Linked DNA regions of Homo sapiens: region 2 is linked to region 1. Evidence: promoter capture Hi-C in human tissues and cell types (Jung and others, 2019). All regions are on one chromosome and are shown on one strand. Each heading gives the region's core, a stretch centred on a gene start or on the middle of the fragment in contact. The rest is flanking DNA. Distances are from core to core; before and after follow the strand shown.

Region 1 (3,463 bases), core at 301-2,800:
CCAAGTTTGGGCAATTTCAAAGGACAGGGCTTTGGGGAATTGGAACAACTTGTTCAACTTCATTGTGTTTGGGTCTCACTAAACATAGAAACCAGCCTCCCTCTTAATCCCCATCCCACGTGTTGAAAACCATAAACTCAAGTTACCACGAATAAAAGGCCATGGAAGAGTGCCCAGATGCCCTTCGGGATGGGATGACCCAGTTAGGAGGTAACAATGTTTGGGGTTGAGATTGTCCCTCTATTAGAAGCAGACAGAGAAAAAGCTATGACCAAAATGTTTGCATGGCTTAATTAAATATCAACAGATATCTCTATTCACTTTAAAGCTCCAGCACACCAGACAAGGGATCCGAGCTCCGGGCAGGAGCCAAAACCACCATTGCAGATATGCTCCCAGTTTTACCAGCTAATTAGATGTTAAACTTACATTGTAACAATCAACCTGATATTATTGCCTACTGCAGATAGAACTAGAATTCTAATTAGGTCAGAATTCTAGCTGGGATTGTGTAGATGGACAAATTCTTTCAGGGTAGTTTGATATCACTGCTATAATTTATGGTAAAGACAGTTGGGATCATACTGGCAAACTAAGTACCTGCCTACACTCCCTCAGGCCTAAAAATGCCATTGATTATCCCAAAAAAACTGAGAAAATAATCCACTACAGTACGGAAAAAGACAAAATAGGGGCACTAACACACAAGAAGCACTGAAGGCTTTCTGAAAGAGTAATCAGGCCTGATGTTTGTAGTTTTAATGTTTACTTTGCAAACAAAGGTAGAAACAGAGTCTGGAGCTCGGATGCCACCACCAGAGAGGGTGGCTGTTCAGCCTCTCTCCTGTGCAAATTAACCTAATTCTGAACCTGTCTTGGTTTAATTCGCACAATTTCAGGTGCCATGCTAGGTACACCACAAATATACCTCAGGGACCTCAATTGCAAAAACCTGGACTGCAAACGTTGGGGCTGCAGAGTTGACTAGGTTAATAAATTCTTTCTGAGGTAAAGCAGATAACACCCACTAATAAAAAGAATGAAACTTCATCGTCCCATTGGCATCCTCGGGTGTGCAGGTGTTCCTCAGAGCAAAGCCCATGGTGTGCCCCATCGCCAATTCGTGACAAGGCAGGGGGCGGGGGGCGGGGGAAGGAAAAAAGCCTGGGATAAGAAATCAGAGAATACAAGTCGCTTTTAAACAAAAAACAGTGACTGTTAGAGTACACCCACCATTGGGGTAACACGCAATAATCTCTCAGCATCACTGACTCCAGCACAGCTGGTCCCCTGGAAAAGGCACGTTGCCGGAAGGTTTTGTGTGTGACCAAGCAATTGGCCATCCCACGCCTTCGCCCTACCAGATGGGTCCCTGCCCCCGGGAGTCCCCTCCCCCTCCACCCTCCAAACCCAGGCAGCGCCCGCCCCTGCCCCCGCTGATTGACAGGCCGTGCAGCTACTCCTGGGAGCCTGGCTTTCGGGGGCAACCCAGGCAGAAGTGACTATCTCTGCAGCAGCCAATAGAAGCCAGGAGGCGGGGCGGGGAAGCGGCGCGGTCAGGTGCTCCGCTCCAGAGTTGAGCGCAGGTGAGCTCCTGCGCGTTCCGGGGGCGTTCCTCCAGTCACCCTCCCGCCGTTACCCGCGGCGCGCCCGAGGGAGTCTCCTCCAGACCCTCCCTCCCGTTGCTCCAAACTAATACGGACTGAACGGATCGCTGCGAGGGTGAGTCCAGGGGCGTGGGTGGCTTCCCTCCCGGGAACCCACACTGCTCCTCTGGGTCCCTAAAGCAACGTCCCCTCCTTGCCACTGCACATCTAAGAAGCCCAGGCCTCGGTGGGCGGGATGACTGGGAATTGGGAACATAACCTACGCCGCGACCATTCTGGGTGGCTAGGATGGAATCCTGGTGGAGAAGATGGACACCCCCGCCCTTGACGTCTACCCGAGCTACACAAACCTACTCCTTCTGCACTTTCCCTCTTCCGTTTAATCGGTGCCCCGTCCTTCCTGCTCTCCAAGTCTGTTTGTGGAGGAAGGGTTGGAGGGGAGAAAGAACTGGAAAGTACTCAATGAAATGTGGAGCCAGATCCAGGGATTCCACTGTTTTGTGCAGCATTTTGTGCACGAAAAAAAAAAAAATTCTGATTGTTTTCATTCCCCACCCCCCACCTCTGTTTATTGCTCTGTGTCATGGATGTGATGTTGAGTCTTCTTGCCAAACATTCCTAAGCTTTAGACAACACTTAATCTTTGCTTACTTTTGTTGGTCCCAAGAAAGCAGTTTTCTCCTGCTTACACATGTGCCGAATTAATTTGCTAAGATAGATGAAAATGAGGTGTTCCATGTAGTTTATTTCCTCTGCTTTTAGCCTTAAATTACATTTGGTTGATACTAGCCTTCCTTGTTTTAAAAAGGTGGGAGAGAAAATTAGGGGGAGAAAGGACAGAGAGAGCAACTACCATCCATAGCCAGATAGGTGAGTAAATATATTTGCAGTAACCTATTTGCTATTCCTTGCTGCAACTGTGTTTAATGTTCCTTCCAGAATCAGAGAGAGTATTGCCATCCAAGAAATCGTTTTTAAATATGACATTTGAGCTATCATCTTGAGACCAATACCTAAAACAATTTCAGTTTAAGAAATGTCTAGGTATGGTGAAAACACAGTTTAAAACCAGCAAAACAGAATTTATTGCCCTCAGCGAATACCCACAATGTACATATACCTTGTATTTCTGAAAGCAAAGCAAGCATGCCAAGTAGTTTTTATTTACCTGTACCTATAATACAGCAAGGTGAAACAGGATATATTTTTGAAGTTTAAAAATGTCTTCAGGCCGGCTGCGGTGGCTCATGCCTGTAATCCCAGCACTTTGGGGAGCCGAGAAGGGTGAATCACCTGAGGTCAGCAGTTTTGAGACCAGGCTGGCCAACATGGCGAAACCCTGTCTCTACTGAAAATACAAAAATTAGCTGGGTGTGGTGGCGGGCGCCTGTAGTCCCAGCTACTTGGGAGACTGAGGCAGGAGAATTGCTTGAACACGGAAGGCGGAAGTTGCAGTAAGCTGAGATCGTGCCACCGCACACCAGCTTGGGCAACAGAGTGAGACTCCCTCTCAAAAAAAAAAAAAAAAGAAGTCTTCAGCTTAGGAAGATATCAAAAGGCAGTTTCAAGAGATTTATTTGTACAAGTGTGGTTTGATCTAAGTTTTGGTGGGTTTATAAATACCTTCATGCAGGAATGGGTAGAAAAATGAGAGAACAAAAGATCCCTGCTGGATGTGCACGCCTGATGAAAACTGACAAAATTTACATATCTATTGTTTATCCATACAGCGTCTTATTAGCTTTCTTCAATAGAATGAAAGTATTTTAGAAATATACACAGATTAGGGGAAAAGACCAGCAACCTTGATTCACAGAGCTTTAAACCAGGGAAGTGCTTTTACTACACCTATCAAT
Region 2 (3,463 bases), core at 333-2,832, 260 kb before region 1:
GAATCTGCTATTGTACATACCTTTGAAGAAACCAATTTGCTATTGTACATAACTTTGAAGAAACCAATCTTTTATTTCTCAGTGAGAATGTATAAAAGTGAAATCACACCTATGGAAAATCCACATTCCCGATGAGAAGGCAAATCTTAAAATTGGGAGGACTAGGAGGATTGAATTAAATTATAAAAGTGAGTGCATTTTCACTCATATATTCCTCTTATTTCCCTCTTCATTCTCCTCCTAAGCAATCTCATCCAAACCTTTAATTGCCACCTGTACACTAACAACTATGAACATTCTACCCCTGATCCAAGCAGCCTCTCTGAGGTAGGTAACTGATGTCTCCTCTTGATGTCTCATGATATAGAAAGCCATCTGCTAACCAGGTCTCCTTCCATTATTTCTTGTATTCCTGAACCAAACCACCCTACATCCAGTTTTTCCACTCAGAAGCTCTCCTTCTCCCTCACCCAATCATTCTGTAGCTAATCCTGATGATGTTACGTCCTAAATATCTCTCCTATTTGACAGCTCACTTTTATCCCTGCTCCAAGCTTCAGGCATCTCTCATCTCGACTATTGCAGTTGTCTCTGTCTTGGTCTGCGACTGGTCCTCTCTTGCTGTTCTTCAATGCATTTCACTTTGAAGCTTGAAGTGCTTTAGTTTTTTGGTTTCAAAGCTCAAATATGGTATGTGTAAAACCCACCCAAAGCTTCCCATTCCTTTCAGGATGAAGGTCAGTATTCTTAGCCTGGCCTTCAAGGTCAACCTACCTCAAGGCTTTTCCTTCACTCCTGAGTCTTCTGTCTCCAGCCATGCTAACTTTCTCTCCTTCTTTGAGTTTACAACTGTTGTCATATTCCCAGGGTCTTTGCATGTGCTGATTTATCTGCCATATACACTGCCAGCCGCATCCCTCCTGTGCCAGTGCAAGACCTCGTTAGTTCCTCTGGGATACACTTTTAGAGTGCTGTGCTTCTTTCCTTCAGAGCGCTTATCTCAGCATGAATGATCCATTTCTTTATGTGATTGTTAACTAACATCTTCACATTAGACCCTAGGGTCCATAAGGGCAAGAACGTACCTGCCCTAATGACCATTCTCTAGCACCTGGCACAGTGCCTGGCATATAATTTGTTGAAAAAAAATGAATACAATACCTTTTAGGGATTCCTTCAGATTCTGCTTGTACTGATAGAGACGTTTCATATGGAACCTATTTCTCTCAGAAATTAAAACGTTGATAACTCTCAAGATAATATTTTCCTTCTTCAGTGTAATAACCAAGAAAACTGAAGAGTACTCTGCAGTCTACCAAGAAGTTTGTGAGTTATTTGACCCTTACAGCAAATGTGCAAGGTAAAAGATGCAGAGTTCTGTAGTAATTTGCTGATATTCACATAGATCTATCATAGGTGGGACTGGAACCCGTATCTTTTGGCTTCGAGTTAAAATGCCTCTGTTGTGCAAAGCTGCCTCTAAAGTGGCAAGTTCAGAGTACACCCTGTAAAAGTGTTTATACAATTCTATTCATTTATATCTAGCATACTGTGTTCCCCTATATTAAGTGGGATGCTTTAGGTGCATTTCTGTGAAGGACTCTGGTTTCTATACTTTAGGTGCATTTCTGTAAAGGACTCCTGGATCACCCCTTTTGCCCCTACTACTTACACTGTGGTTTATCTTTTAAAACAATTATACATGTGATTAATATCATAAGCTCTTGCTTAATTGATTACCTGATATTATCTCTGAGGCTGAGGTCATCTACCTTTTACCTTCTACATATTTACATTCCTGTTTTAGATATGACACATTGGCCATATGAATTTACTCTCATTCCTAAAAGTAAAAATATAACAAGGTATAAACCATGGTAGAAGAGAATAGAGAGAAGATATCACCTGTCAAGAGATTTTAACACATTTTGAGAAGAAAGCAGATGGAGGAATGGCAACTAATTTAGCAGAGTGGAAGGAGCTTTCAGCTAAATTGCCTCCATGAGGGAGAATATATTAAAAAAACAAGCCCTCAAAAGTTCTGAGAGTTCTGGGACATCAGGTACAGGGAAGAGAAGGTACAGGAAGGTGAGCTTCATGGTTGGAAAGACAGAGATATAGTGAAAATTTAGCCATGCTCCTCTGTCCTGGGCCCTGAATATCCAAAGCATGATGATTACTTTCCAGGTCAGAGACTGGAGATTCTTCTCTGGAAATTCTAAGCCATTGCTCCAAAGAAAATCCCAGTCAGATCATTTATTTATTCATTTAGCAGATATTTATTGAGTTCCAACTATGTTTACTGTTCAAAGTACCATGAATAATGCATAAACTATACCATTACTCATGGTGCATATCATCTCATGGAGAGAAATGATGAACACATAAAAAAATACATAATGTGATTTTCAGTGGGAATAAATACTACAAGGTGACGCTGCTGTGGTGAGGGACTTTTTTTTTGGCATCATTCTTATATTCTTTGATCAGGGAGTAAAAATATTTGGCAGAACGAGTACTCCCTAGCCCCAGTGAATCTTCACTTACCTCTCATTGGCTGGTACCCTTAGATGCAAAAGAGCCTGGAAAAACAAGCATCTATCTGAGAGGAATAGGACAACCAGGCCTAGCTTAGCCCTAACAGATTCATCCTGTAGCTGAAATGTGGTCCTAGCTTAGCCCTAACAGATTCATCCTGTAGCTGAATTGTGGTCCTAGCTTAGCCCTCACAGATTCACCCTGTAGCTGAATTGTGGTCCTAGCTTAGCCCTCACAGATTCATCCTGTAGCTGAATTGTGGTCCTAGCTTAGCCCTAACAGATTCATCCTGTAGCTGAAATGTGGTCCTAGCTTAGCCATAACAGATTCATCCTGTAGCTGAAACGTGGTCCTTAGTAAATCAAGGCTCTCATCAAGGGAGAAGAAAGAAATCACTTATGTGGAATCAACAGACAATGTCTGCCATAAACTTACGCTTGGATTGCTTGAAAGTTTGAATTGTCTATCTGTTGGTTTCTCTCGTTTCTTTTGAAAATGCAAAGCCCTCTGATGGTTGTATGTCAATACAGCTATATTGCATGCGAGGTCATGTGACTCAGAATCCGGGTTAAGAGAGCAGGATGTCAGAAAGCAATGAGAATGTTCATTAGTGTATTAATCTGATAGGTATGTCATTATTTATTTACTCAATACACATTTTACCCAGTCTTGTTATGCCCCAAGCCCTTGAGAAACAATTAGATGAAAGATAGTTGCTAAATTTGTTGAGTTCTGAACACTATATTCCTGGCATGATTTTAATTATTTTACATGTATAATCTTATTTAACTTTAATAACTATGCAATGGGAAAGGTACTAATACTTACATCCATTTACTGATGAGGAAATTGAAGGTCAGTAACTAACTAATCCAAGGTCAACTAGGGATGTGGGCCTAAAAGGTCTGTTTCTAAAGCCCATGCA

The links. The method cuts DNA at HindIII sites, captures the fragments that hold promoters and counts their contacts. A contact is called where the count stands out against the background at its distance.
Region 2: a contact is called between a fragment that was not itself captured here and the fragment with the promoter of ENPP5 in region 1, in 1 of the 25 tissues and cell types used here (hippocampus).

The regions. Positions count from the first base shown.
Region 1 is chr6:46,169,067-46,172,529 of GRCh38, reverse strand. ENPP5 (ectonucleotide pyrophosphatase/phosphodiesterase family member 5) reads left to right here and starts at 1,550. Exons shown (of 5, transcript NM_001290072.2): 1 at 1,550-1,722; 2 at 2,416-2,477. RefSeq lists a silencer at 1,319-1,378. The HindIII fragment of the contact is 11,054 bases long and covers 1-3,463 here.
Region 2 is chr6:46,427,309-46,430,771 of GRCh38, reverse strand. All of the region lies in intron 2 of RCAN2 (regulator of calcineurin 2), which reads left to right. Among named protein-coding and RNA genes, the nearest start is that of RCAN2, 62 kb to the left of the region's middle. The HindIII fragment of the contact is 4,017 bases long and covers 1-3,463 here.